4 separate regions of the Homo sapiens genome follow, and regions 2, 3 and 4 are each linked to region 1. Evidence: promoter capture Hi-C in 16 types of primary human blood cells and fetal thymus (Javierre and others, 2016). All regions are on one chromosome and are shown on one strand. The core of a region is centred on a gene start or on the middle of the fragment in contact, and the rest is flanking DNA. Distances in the headings are between cores, read along the strand shown.

Region 1 (3,492 bases), core at 455-2,954:
GAGACACCCAGGCTGGAGTGTCATGGCGCGATCTCGGCTCACTGCAACCTCTGCTTCCCAGGTTCAAGCGATTCTCCTGCCTCAGCCTCCCGAGTAGCTGGGACTGCAGGCGCGTGCCACGACACCTGGCTAACTTTTTTTTGTATTTTTAGTAAAGACAGTTTCACCATATTGGCCAGGCTGATCTCGAACTCCTGATCTCAAGTGATCCGGTGGCCTTGGGCTCCCAAAGTGCTGAGATTACAGGCGTGAGCTACCACACCCAGCCTTTTTTTCTCCCCCCACATTGGAGGAAGAGTTTAACCTTGAAGGGCTTGTAGAGTCAGATAACTGTCACTTGTTATTTAAAGTTATAGATAGTAGGCAAAAGCTTTCAAGCCACTGAAAAAGAATAATGCTTGTTTTCTTTGATGGATTGTTAGGTAGCATATATAATGTGCTGTATTTAACACCTGTCCTTTTTCTTTCCACCCATCCAAGGCGTCAAAGGCCATCTTAAATCCCGGCTCCTCAGGAAATCATCCCCAAACACACCAGCTGGAATTGATATTTTTCTTTTCCAAATTCCTATGTAAATTCATGTCATTTATTTGGAATTGCTTATAGAGAGTTTCAGAGCGTTAAAGAACTGGAAAGGACCTAGGATTCAATACAATTCTCTCATCTCGCAGACGAAGAAAATGAAGTGCAGAGGAGCTACGCAATCTACGTAAGTCACATAGACACACATTGGAGGCTATGAACCTAGTTTGCCCAATTCCCACTGCAGTCCATTGGTTTATGCCTCTATGCCTTCAGATTTACGGTCTGGTATTGCTGGTTATCTTCTCAAGAGAACATGACATCTCAACAATAGTACATATAGAGATCAGGGAACTTTCAATTCTTCGTTACTTCTTCAGCTCATAATTTATATGCATTAAATGTCGGATAATTTACTGGAGACTAACTGGCTGTGTTTTAGGTAATGATTACATCTATTAATCTATTACTTCGTAAATCCTCAAGTTCAGAAGGTAACACTGGAAGGGGCCAAGGAGGTAGGAATAAAGCAGCAGCAAGGTAAATAGTAAGAGCTGATGACCACAATCAGAATGTTAAGCTAAGTTTAGAGTGGAAGGTCATTTTCCCAGGAGCAATTACACTTGCAGTTTTATCCTGCAAGGATGAAAAGTGTATGTTTGTTGTACGAGAGCGGAAGGGTGCCGAAGTTCATGTGAAGTTCTGCAAACCAAAGCCTGATGAGGATTTCCGCCGGGTGGGACAGGTTTAAGAGGACGAACTCATGAGAAAGAAGTCTGAGCCCAAACCCCAGAAGCCGGCCAGGAAGGTGTAAAGGGTGGGCCGAAGCCAGGGCAGAAGAACCCAAGCAGAAGGTTGAGCACGAGGTGGCTGCGCCGTCATCCGGGCGTTGCCCGGGGGCTACGTCGGACCGCGGTGGGCGCCGGGGGGGCGTGGCCGGCCAGCCCAGGGCGGGGCGGTGGCGCGGGTTCTCCAGGCCAACACGCGGCGGCGCACCCTCCCTCGCGCCGCGGGCCTCCCCGCGCCGTGCACGTCCTCGTCCCGCGCCTCCGCCCCTCGCTCGCTCGCTCCTTCCCGCCCTCCCCGCAGCGCCGGCCGAGCCGGCTTCCCCTCAGTCTCTCATGAATATTGAGCGGCCCCTGTTGTATTTCCCGAGCTCCATTGCGGAAGCTGAGGCTCGCCATATTGTGCGGCGGCGCCGGCGTCCGCGGCAGCTGATACCAGAGTCTTGCTCCGGCCGCGGCCAGCGGAGCCCTGGGCTGGGGCAGGAGCCGGTGAGTGGGGCGGGCGGGGAGGCGAAGGACGCGGAAGCAGCGGGCCGGGACACGCGTCTACTCGGCAGCGTTGCAGGCGACTGACGGGGGCCCCGGAGTGTGGGGGGGGTGTGTGTCCGCGGGGGTGTGAAGGGACATGGCGCCGCCGCCGCCCCCGGCCGCTCTCGCGGCGGAGACGGCGGGTGAAGCGGGTTCTCATTGTTCCCGTGTCTTCGAGGGTCGTGGGAGGGAAGGGAGCTGGTTTGCGGAGGACCCAGTCAGCGAAGCGCCGGGATTCCTTCCTTCGCCGCGAGCCTTTCGCTGCCCTTTCCTCTGCGCGGAGGCCGGCGCTGCGGCGCGGTCCCCTCGCCTCCGGGGGCGGGGGCCCCAGCCTCTCTGCAGCCCTACTCCGGAGGCGGACGGAGTGGAATGCGAGTTTTTTCTCTGGGCTTTCGCCTCGCAGCTAGGGATGTGTGTCTGCATCGTGGGGGTGGGGTAGGGGGCACTTTGTGCAGATATCGCTCCTTCCTTCTGGGGGGTCGGAGTCGGGGTTCCAGTGTAGAGGAGCTCCTCGACCTCGGGGTTCCTCGGGGAGACCCCTTCAGCTTCACACATTCCTGGAGTGCCGCCTCCTGCTCTGGAGTATCTGTTGCTGCTTTCTAAAACCGTGAGCTTACCCAGGAGGAGTCGTGGGGGGAGGGGGTGTCTTGGTTAGTTTCTGCGGGAAGATTCGCGTTTTGAACCGTGTCGTTTACGCTGAGATGCTAGTACCCACTTTTGCCGGGAGCCCACGTCCTGCTGGTCAGAATCGTTTACCTTCTACAGAAGTCTCCTTCTTGCTTTCAGAGATGGTGTTAGTAAAAATTGATCTCAAACTTTGAGGTTCATTCCAGTTATTTGCCCGCTAAGATCAATTATAGACTCATCTATTTGAAGCCCCTTTGGGTATCTTTTTCGAGGCTGTCGGAAGTTTTAGAGAATGTAACTTTACATTGTAAAATGATTTGAAGATGTCAGGTTTCTTTGAAGTGCCGTGAAAAGGATATACATATGCACTCAGTATTTTAGTAATACGCTGTTTTTCAATTAAAAAAATTAAGGCATGGTTTCAGTGTTCTAAACCGAGGATATGTTTAAAACGAATGTACGAGCGATTTGCATTACATAATCTACTTTTGGTAATTCCAAGATGATCAGCTGGAATACTTAGTCTAATTGGTAGCTAATCTATCTGTTTTGTATTAAGTGCAGTTGTTGAATATTCTAATAACTGAGGTGGGTGTGAGAGTTTGCTTCTTATAGTGAAATTTGATCCTTGGATTTATAAAGTATTTAAATAGCAGCAATATGACTCTTGGTTATTCCCTTTTTCCCCTGAAATTTCTACTTTTCACAATCAACAAGTATCTTTAAAAATCTTGATTGTACTCTTAAACTACTTTTTAGCAAAATAATAGGTAGTTATAGGTGACTCCTTTTTCTAGGGGTAGCACAGCAAATATGGTCCCTCACTTTTTGTAAGGATTGTAGTTATTTTCCTCAGGTATCCTTGTGGCATCCACATTTGAGGTTAATTATAGTAGAGGCAGATTTACGAAGAAAAATTGCCCGAGTCAGGCCAATCCGTTTGAGTATTTGAAAAATAAGCTAGTTGTCCTAAAGTGTGTTGCATAGAAAAATTTCCAGTTACAATCACTAACATAATGTAGACCATGCA
Region 2 (3,492 bases), core at 712-3,211, 300 kb before region 1:
GCCACCATACTTGGCTAATTTTGTCTTTTTGAAGAGACGGGGTTTCACCAAGTTGGCCAGGCTGGTTTTGAACTCCTGACCTCAGGTGATCCACCTGCCTCGGCCTCCCAAAGTGTTGGGATTACAGGCGTGAGCCACCATGCCCAGCCCCTAATTACTTTTACACGTATCTTTTCATGTGTCAAATTCCTGACTACTCTTTTATGTGTCAATTCCAACAGAACTGATTTCCCAGAATGTACATTTTTATTGCTTTATAGTTTTATATTTAACACATATAAACAACACTTAGAAGAAATACAAAAATTTTTTAAAATTCCTAATGTATTTTGAAAGAATCTTTGTAAAACATCATTCAAATGTTAATTAGGTTGTAAACAGTTCCTTACTATTTTAAACACTGCATAGAAAACTTCATACTGCTGTTTTTTAGGGTTTTCTAACACACAGACACACACATACCTCTGTCTGAAATTAATATAAATTCAAACTCTAAATTAAATATGCCATTCAAATCCTGAAATTAATCTAGATAATAAAAATATTAATAGCAATTGCAACCCAGAATAATCAAATAAGGGAGTTTCAAACCAGGTGTAAAAATACTTTGTCTCTTTGTTTCAAGATTAAGAATAAAAATACAACCACACCTTTTTCTTTGGGTTAACCACAAAGCAAACTACAGACAGTTTGCACAAATTCAGAGCAATGCATACGTGGCAAATTAACAGCCTTATCAAGCTTCAAACATCCTGGCTTTTTGAGGCACAGTAATACCTCCTCTCTCTTCACAGTTTATTGTTGAGGGATACGTAATTCATATTGATATGACTCAGAGCCATGAGAAACATTTAATAATTATCACTCAGAAATAAAACTCAGATGATGAGAGTCCTATATAAATTAAGTAGAACATGTGCCTAGCTGAAAGAGCAAAAATAAAATAAAATAAAATAAAATAAATCATAATAGACCCTCCATATCAGACTCTAAATTTACTAGGGCTTTGAGGTAACAGACTTCTGCTCTAAACCACTCAAGTCAAAGCAGCATCAAAAACTGACTCTTTGCTCCTAGATCTGGTAACTTCAGCAATTTTAAAAAAGAACAACAAAGCTGAAAGACTTAAACTGCCTGAGTTCAGGACCCACTATTAAACTACAATAATCAGGACAATGTGATATTTGTATAAGGGTAGATAGATCAACAAAACAAAATACAGAGTCTAGAAACACACCCATGTATACATGATAAACCAATTTTTTTACACATATTTCAAAATAATTCAGTAGGGAAAGGATATTATTTTCAACAAATGGTGCTGGAATAACTAGACAGCCACATTAAAAAAATATATAAATCCACCTTTACCTCACATCATATACAAAAATTAACTCAAAATCAGTTATAGATCTAATGAACAAGCTAAAATTATAGAACATCTAGGAAAAAAAAACAAGAAAAAATTTGTGACATTGGGCTAGGCAAATATTTTTTAGGTAGGCTATAAAAGGCATGAATCATAAGAGAAAAATAATAAACTGGATTGATCATAATTTAAAGTATTTGTGCTTCAAAAGTTCCTGTTAAGAAAATTAGAATGTAAAGCACAGACTGGGAGAAAATATATCCAAAGCATATATTTGATAAGGGACTAATATCCAGAACATATTAACTTTTATAACTCAGTAATAACAGAACAAATGACAAATATATATATATATATATATATATATATATATATATATATATATGAATAGCAAATAAGCATATGGGAAAATTTTCAATGTCATTAATCATCAGGAAAAATCAAATTAAAATCACAATGAACTACCACTATACACCCAACAGAATGGCTGAAATTAGTAAGACTGGAAATACCAAGTGGAAGGACACAGAATAATTAAAACTCATACACTGCTGGTGGGAAATGCAAAATATTATAGCCATTTTAGAAAAGATTGGCATTTCTTATTAAGTTAAACTTACACTTGCCATATGACCTAGTAATCCTATTCCTAGGTGGGAAATATATGAAAATGTATGCCCAAATAAAAACTTGCACTCACAGGTTGACAGCAGCTTTATTAATACAATAATAGCCAAAGACCAAAAATAAGTCAAATACTCATTAAATGGTGAATGGACAAAGAAATTATGTTCAATCAAATCAACTAATACTACTGAGTAATAAATAAGAATTACAATATATCTCCAATATTGTGTTCTAGCAAATCAACTAACACTACTGAGCAATAAATAGGAATTACAATATATCTCCAACAACATGGATAAATCTCAAAAGCATCATGCTAAATGAAAGAAAGTAAATCAAAAGACTATGTACTGTATGATGCCATATATATGAAATCCTAGGAAAGAGAAAGGTGTAGTGACAAAACACAAATCAAGGTTGCTAGGCGTCAGAGGTGGGGAGAAGGAATTTACTGCAAATAACTATGAGTTAAATTTTTGGGGTGATGAAAATGTTCTGTATCATGACTGTGATGGTGGTTAAACAACTGTATACAATTGTCAAAAAAGAATTGTGCACTCAATTTGAAATTTTATTGTCTGTAAATTATATCTAAAAAAGATGAATTAGCTGAACGATCTGGTTCTACTGAATTAAAATTCTATGTAGAGTATCAGAGTGTGATTACAAAATGTTTTGAGAGGATACTATAGAATTTCTTGTGTAATTTTGGTAGGGTTTTAGGATGTTCTGAAAGCAAAGGCCAAGGAACAATGACTCATAGATGATAGTCCCACAACAGTCTACACAAAAAAAGGTAAATATAAATTTATATCTCCCTTACTCCCATTAGTACCATGCCTAAAATACTTTGTTTACAGAATTACTGTTTCTGATGAATGAACCATTAAAGAGAAACACCGAGTACAGAGTTTCAGATTGGGAAGATGAAAAAATTTCTAGAGATGAATGCACAACAATATGAATGTACTTAATGCCACAAAACTGTAAACTTAAATGGTTAAAATGGTAAATTTCATATTATGTATATTTTACAACAATAAAAATTTTTTTTAAACATTGGGGGGTAGGGGAGAGGCACTCCAAAAAAATGTACATAAATCTAGAAATGCACAGGAAGTTCATTTTGAAAGAGTTCCTTTGGTTTGATTAATAAAGACTATTCTACTGTTGCTTTCACAAAATCAAGCTTAATAGTGGTTATTAGGTACGATTCTACTAAAGGAAATTGTGCTTACCAACTCTATCCAAGCTTATTTTTAATGTTTAGGGCTCTTACCAGAATATAGTTTTTGCTTGTAACAGTTTGAGTTGTCTAACACAGACAGGAAAAACACTGGGAGCTCCAAAAAGGTTCTACATTTGGATGGCCCAAATACATGTCATTTTGTCATCTAAATTAATCTGCAAACTAAACTGAACACAAATACTCAAAACATGCTAACAGAAGCCCTAAAGTGACTGTGGCCTGGGGTTAAATAAGGTCACACAAGAAC
Region 3 (3,492 bases), core at 417-2,916, 280 kb before region 1:
AATAATGGAAATTCTCAGCTAATTGGCACTTTATGAACACTAGGAAAAATTCACTTACGTTATTTTAAAACCTATACACTTAGTGATAAAAAGGATGTACGAGTTAATTGAGAGAGTCTAGTGTTGTACAGAGGGAAAAAGACTGGTGGAAAGCACATCAGAAGAATAAGGATAGAACTTTTAAAGATATAAAGATTTTTTATGTATAAAACCCATTAAAAATGGTAAGAAATAACAGCCATTTCTAAAATGCCCTTTAACCAGTTAACAATCTGTTTGCACAGCCTTGTAGCTTATGTAAATATGCATGCTCACTTTCCTGCTTGGATGTGTCAGAAGTTAGGGAGGGATAGGAGCCCTGGGTAGAACCATATGGATTCAAAAACACAGGGAGGGGCTCCATTTTAATATTATGGCTCAGAAATAGTCCTAGGAAGCTGGGACCAGCTGTGCAAAACTGGTCATAGAACAGCAGTTGCCCCTAAATGATTTGAATTCTTTAGTACTACAGTTCTAATTACTCCTGAAACTAGTATGGAATTTGGGAGTGGTGATTTTGTCATTCTTCAAATTGCTTTTCCTATTCTTTGATAGCATGCAGAATTGACAACAGTTTTCTTCTAGAGAACCCAATCTTGCAAACATTAAATAAAGACAGTAATTATTCTGCATTCACAATTAGTGACTTTGAGGCCTTAGAAAGAGCACCTCATGACAAAGATACTCGGTGAATGTCGTCAACTGACTTCCTGCGTGGCTGTCGGACTGATTTTTTCAAATTCTAAGAAAGAGAATGAGAGATTCAGATGATTCACCTCCCCAAAAGATGTCCCCAGGGCTTTTTCCACCTCTCCATCTTGATTTGAGATCTTCAAAATCACTTCACCTTCAGATTATTATCCCATTTCTCTCACTGGCACTAGCTCCAACTCTCTCAGGCAAGAAAGTTTGCTCATGTGTCATGATTATTTGGTTGGGTCACTTATTTAGTGGCCATTTTCCATTTACTTCAAGTATCAGAAGCAAAACCAAGTCACATGGCTCTTCGAGGGAGTACATTTTGTGTTTGTTCCCTCTCTTAAATCCCCATTTCACCATCAGCATAGTTCCCACTTATTGGTACAGTGTGGCCACAGGATTTAGGTGAGCACCATTCAACAACAGTTGCACAGGTACCATTCAGGCCAAGAACAATGGCTCTGAGACAGCTCTGCTGATTATTGGCTGGGCTTCCTTAAGCAAATGACTAAATCTCTGTGCTTTTGTTTCCTCATTTGTAAAATGAGAATAAGAATAATACCTACCTCACAGCATTTTTAGAAAGATTAAATGGTTTAATTGTTATGCCTTCCTTTTAGGGATGTTGTGAAGATAATGAGATGGTGTGTGTAAAATATTTAGTACAGTTTGAAGGAACTCAATAAATAGTAGGTATCCATATCATGATTATGAGGTAAAGAGAAAACATCGCCATTGTTGAGAGTAGGATTCAAGGGTGAGTGCAGCTGCTCCAACAGCACCCATGGCTCTGGTTTTATTTTCAGCCCTGAATCTTTTTTTCTTTTTTAATTATTATTTTTTTAAAAACAGAGAGAAAGAGAGACAGGGTCTCACCATGTTGCCCAGGTTGGTCTTGAGATCCTGGACTCAAGCGATCCTCCCACTTCCGCCTCCCAAAGTGCTAGGATTACAGGTATGAGCCACCATGCCTGGCCCCAGCCCTGAATCTTGTCTACTTCCTTTGCTTGCTTACTTCGTGCTGCCATTGCAGGCTCCCCATCCAAAAATGTAGCCCTCTTTAGGCCAGCAACTCCAGAGACTGTTGAATTCAGGCACAGTTTGTATGAGCTATAGCGCCTCATCCCTGTATTAGAGTAAATACGCACAAAAACACAAGGTACTTTTCTGTCCTCTTAAAATTAATAATGGCTTCATTTGTAAGACATTTGAAGTTATAAACGTTCTGGAATAAAGTTGTCAGAAAATCTTTGCAGCTTTTTTGTTTGTGTGACTTTCTTCAGTTTTACTTTGTTTTTGTAAAAGCTCATCTTACCTCCAACCTCCAAGGGATTTAGAAAGATAGTTTTACTGGTTATCTAATTATGAAATTAAGGATCAAAGTGAAAGGTGCCCAGTTGATCTTGTCAAAAAGCATTAGGTAGAGTAATCCCCAACATTAGGACACTTAAGAATTAAAAATAAGTTATTTCTGTAATGATCCTATCATTTCTCATTATCCAAATCCGACATTCTTCCTAGAATTGTTATCCAAACCCTGTGTTCTTCCTAGGAGCTCCCTTTGCATACATATACATATATGTTTTGTATATGAGTATATATAAATATATACACATATACAATATACATATATTGCACATGTATGTATTTGTATACACATACTTGTAGTACTGTCTTTTCACCCTTTCTTCCTGTTCTTGTAATCCTCAGAGTGGTCCAAATTTGTCAATCCCCAGCATTTCTTAACCTCAGAGGTAAATGCTGACAGTCCTTAAATATTTGAAATTAAATATTTCCTGGCCTCCAGCTTAAAGTTCTATGAAAACAGTGCTTATTTCTGTTTCTTCTCCAAATGTATTGATAAGTTTGGAGTTTTTTTGGTTGGGATTGTTTTTTGCTTGATTTTTTACAGGTAGGGCTTTTAGGTAATAAGTGGGGGTAGTAAAGGTTTGTGATGGATGAGAAGTAGAATAAAGAGTTCTTGGTTTATTTGCAGATCAATCTCTTTGTGATACTTTAAAATCAGTATACAACCTTCAAATACATGATTATACTTAAAACTTTGAGAGAGTGGTGTTAGATACACGGCTTTCTTGAAGATCACCATATTTTTCTTGGCACTAGATGATGAGGCAAGTATAGTTTCATTGTGCACAAAATGTACTATTTTTCATCCATTGCTAGAGATTAATAGACATTATTATTTACAGAAGTAGCTCTTAAGCAAATATAATCTTCAGAGCCTTCCTAGCCCTTTTTGGGAGACTTGCACCCAATTTTAGCGCAATCTCTGGGTTCCCAAGGCCCCCACTCTAATGTTTAATGTTTTCTCCTGGTTTTTCTCTGCATCACTTCACATCACTTCCTCTTCCTTCCTACTCCAATTCATTCTGCATGCATATGCGTGTGCGTGCACACACACACATAAACACACACACATTTGCTTTGTGCCTATTCCTGAACATTGAACTTTGAATCAGCTGACTTGGGTTCTACATTTAGATCTGCTAGTTACCATTTTATGGAAGTCTGTTTCTCTAAGATTCAGGTTTGGTTTTGTTTTTCTCAGTTCATATGGCCAAGAGAAGTGAGCAGAGGTTCCAGATGTAGAATCAGATTAGTGGTTTAAAAGAGTAAAATAACTATTACAGTTTAATCATGCAAAACTACTGGCTTGTTTTTAGTAGATAGACAGACGTAGTAGTCAAATTATAGGAGTTGGGGTGAAAATTATTTCCCAACAATTTCATAACA
Region 4 (3,492 bases), core at 526-3,025, 260 kb before region 1:
TGCTAGCTCACTTTTCTATGGATTCTCCTAGGGAGATATTCTTTTTTACACACAGGGTCTCACTCTGTTGCCCAGGCTGGAGTGCAGTGGTGCAATCATGGCCCACTGTACCCTTGACCTCCCCTGGCTGAGGTGATCCTCCCACCTCAAGCTCCCAAGTAGCTGGGACTATAGGTGCACACCACCACACTTGGCTAATTTTTCTACATAGAGATGTTGCCCTGGCTGGTCTCGAACTCCTGGGCTCAAGCAATCCTCCTGCCTCAGCCTCCCCATGTGTTGGGATTACAGGTGAGAGCCCCCATGCCCAGCCAAGGGAGATATTGTATCCACCCCCACAGCTTTAACTATCAATATATATGCCATTGACTTCCAAATCCTTATTTCTATCCTTGACATTTTTTGAGATCTTGTTTTATATATCTGTTGCAGGAGTCAGGGACCCCAAATGGAGGGACTGGCTGGCGCCACGGCACAGCAACATAAATTGTGAAGATTTTATGGACATTTATCAGTTCCCCAAATTAATACTTTTATAATTTCTTACACCTATCTTTACTGCAATCTCTGAACATAAATTTTGAAGATTTTATGGACATTTATCAGTTCCCAAATAATACTCTTATAATTTCTTATGCCTGTCTTTACTTTAATCTCTTAATCCTGCTATCTTCGTAAGCTGAGAATGTACATCACCTCAGGACCACTATTGTGTTGAACTGTACAAATTGATTGTAAAACATGTGTGTTTGAACAATATGAAATCAGTGCACCTTGAAAAAGAACAGAATAACAGCGATTTTCAGGGAAGAAGGGAAGACAACCATAAGATCTGATTGCCTGTGGGGTTGGGCAGAATAGAGCCATATTTTTCTTCTTGCAGAGAGCCTATAAATGGACATGCAAGTAGGGAGGATATCACTGAATTCTTTTCCTAGCAAGGAATATTAATAATTAAGACCCTGGGAAAGGAATGCATTCCTGGGGGGAGGTCTATAAAGGGCCACTCTGGAAGTGTCTGTCTTATGCGGTTGAGATAAGGACTGAAATACGCCTTGGTCTCCTGCAGTACCCTCAGGTTTATTAGGGTGGGGAAAAAACCCCACCCTGGTGAATTTGAGGTCAGACTGGTTCTCTGCTCTCGAACTCTGTTTTCTGTTTTTTAAGATGTTTATCAAGACAATACATGCACATCTGAACATAGACCCTTATCAGAAGTTTTTGATTTCGCCCTTTGCCTTGTGATCTTTGTTCTCCTTTTTTGCCCTTTGAAGCATGTGATCTCTGTTCATACACCCCCTCCCGTTTTGAAGTCCTTAATAAAAACCTGCTGGTTTTGCAGCTCAGGTGAGCATCATGGTCCTACCAATAAGTGATGTCACCCCCAGAGGCCTAACTATAAAATTCCTCTCTTTGTACTCTTTCTCTTTATTTCTCAGCCGGCCGACACTTAGGGAAAATAGAAAGAACCTACATTGAAATATTGAGGGTGGGTTCCCCCGATATATATCCATTTTGGTTTTGGTGAAAATTAGATTAATAAATGCCCTGAAGACAACAAAAAGCTTTCTAAGAGGAAGAATAAAATGTTAAGCTTGTTCCTAGGTAAGATAATCCAGTGGAGCTTGCAGCCTAGAAGCCCATATCTATAACATTTAACCATTTAACCATTGAAGCACTTGTTTTTCCTGAACTGCATTCTGTGGGTAAGGTGTTTTCTTGAAGGAATGGGTTCATATGGCCTTTTACAAGCTGGGGTCGGAAGTAGAGGGAATGTTGGTGAGCCCCACCTTTACAAATAAGTAGCAAACTGACAACCAAGTCTTCCTTTTATCTCCTCAGAAGGAGTAAAATATGGTAGACCTGGAAACTTAAATATAAGAACTTTTCATTTTTTGTAACTTGTAGAGTTTTTATTATTTTATCTCATTTATTTTCCTATAGTGCTTGGAAGCAAAAGCTTTGCCAAAAAAAAAGTGCTCCTTGCTTTCCTTTGAAGACAGCAAGGAAGGAAGTGAAAAAAGGTGCCTTACTCTGGGTTGGGTTTGGGGAGAGAAGATCCTCAAGAGAAAATGTGTTAGACTATGATGTAGAGGTTATTGAAGGAGAGGAGGGGTAATTTGAGGGACCTGCTTCAAGGAAGAAAAGAATAAACAAGGAATTAGTTTGTAAAAACACTCAACATGGGGACTGAAAGCCATGCCACATAAAAAAAGGGAAGGTCTTTGGAATATTGATCCTGGAGAAGGGGTCTCAGTTGTTTGGAGATGTTTGAAAGCTCTCATTCAAATGTTGTGTACAACCCTGTTGGACAGAATTGGATCTATGGAATGAAAATTATGGTCAGAAATGGTGGTGGAGGTAGAGCGGAGAATGGGAGGGCAATATTTTTGCTCTCTATTAAATTTGTCTGAAAATGGGATGTGCTCCTCCTTAGGGGGATAGTAAATTCCCCATTCTTGGCAATGACCACTTAGCAGGAAAATTTTAAAGGAGAAATGCAAGTACAATGAATGCATTTGCATTGGATGAAATTTAGAATATCTCTCAACTCTAAGAGTTTATGATTCTATGAATACATTGAGTGTCAAGACATGCAGGGAAAACTCCCTCTCCTCCAAAAGCTTACGATCTGGTCAGGTGTCAAAACACATGGGAAATTATTAAAAATTTCTTGGTGGTACATAAATGCCAAAATCAATGTTGTCAGATATAATAGTCAATGGGATTCATAGAAAGGAGGCTTGAAATGATGCCAGGAACAGAATATGAGTCCTGATGTGGTCTATGTGTTGGGCAGACAGGTAAAGGAAAAAGCATTCTTGCTGAGATGGCATATTACAAGAGGAGGAATAAAATTGTTCTAACAAAATAAAATTATCAAGCCTCAAAATCTTGTATTCAGCCTTAAGTAAAATTTTAAAAGAAGTAGGTCACTAGGACAACAATATTCTAGTGAGAAAACCAGAAGGGCAAAATCTGGTAAAGCGCTTTTAAGAATATTATATCCTAGGAGTTATATTTTAACAGGTGAAGGAGAGGAGTGAGGGATACTTACAAATCAGTTCTTAGGATTACAAAAAAATAAAGATTATTAACCAGGCAAGATAAAGGTTGTATGTAAGGTCGTTATTTGTTTGGTGGCAGGAAATTGAGTTTCTAGCTAGTTTTTGTTTTGTTTTGTTTTGTTTTGCTTTACTTTGGAGACAAGAGTTTTCCTTCAAAATTGGGTTTATGTTTATAGTTATCACCCAAGGACTGTAAACTTTTCCAAACATTACAATTGTTTGCTATAGAACACTGCATCTGTCATTAGCATGTTTCTCGGATAAAACTGTGCTTCTTTACTTGAAGTTATAAACTATGTTTGTCACAGGTCAAATTTTCTCACTGACCTTGAGATAATGAACATTTTGACCATGACCACTGATCTCGTTATAATGAACTGAAGCAGTATATAAGTGATGTGAATTCTGTTGCTAACTTAGGGAG

The links. The method cuts DNA at HindIII sites, captures the fragments that hold promoters and counts their contacts. A CHiCAGO score of 5 or more calls a contact.
Region 2: a contact is called between a fragment that was not itself captured here and the fragment with the promoter of RNF2 in region 1, in 10 of 17 cell types (total CD8 T cells, naive CD8 T cells, non-activated CD4 T cells and 7 more). The highest score is 9.1, in total CD8 T cells.
Region 3: a contact is called between a fragment that was not itself captured here and the fragment with the promoter of RNF2 in region 1, in 9 of 17 cell types (naive CD8 T cells, naive B cells, fetal thymus and 6 more). The highest score is 8.7, in naive CD8 T cells.
Region 4: a fragment that was not itself captured here is called in contact with the fragment with the promoter of RNF2 in region 1 in 1 of 17 cell types (total CD8 T cells); the score reaches 5.4 in total CD8 T cells.

Annotation. Positions count from the first base shown.
Region 1 is chr1:185,043,854-185,047,345 of GRCh38, forward strand. RNF2 (ring finger protein 2) reads left to right here and starts at 1,705. Exons shown (of 7, transcript NM_007212.4): 1 at 1,705-1,796. RefSeq lists a silencer at 1,335-1,594. The HindIII fragment of the contact is 4,610 bases long and covers 369-3,492 here.
Region 2 is chr1:184,742,540-184,746,031 of GRCh38, forward strand. The region is part of intron 2 of EDEM3 (ER degradation enhancing alpha-mannosidase like protein 3); the gene reads right to left. Among named protein-coding and RNA genes, the nearest start is that of EDEM3, 11 kb to the right of the region's middle. The HindIII fragment of the contact is 2,444 bases long and covers 740-3,183 here.
Region 3 is chr1:184,759,013-184,762,504 of GRCh38, forward strand. All of the region lies in intron 2 of LOC105371649 (a long non-coding RNA gene), which reads left to right. Among named protein-coding and RNA genes, the nearest start is that of EDEM3, 5.9 kb to the left of the region's middle. The HindIII fragment of the contact is 8,455 bases long and covers 1-3,492 here.
Region 4 is chr1:184,782,905-184,786,396 of GRCh38, forward strand. No RefSeq gene overlaps it. Among named protein-coding and RNA genes, the nearest start is that of EDEM3, 30 kb to the left of the region's middle. The HindIII fragment of the contact is 366 bases long and covers 1,593-1,958 here.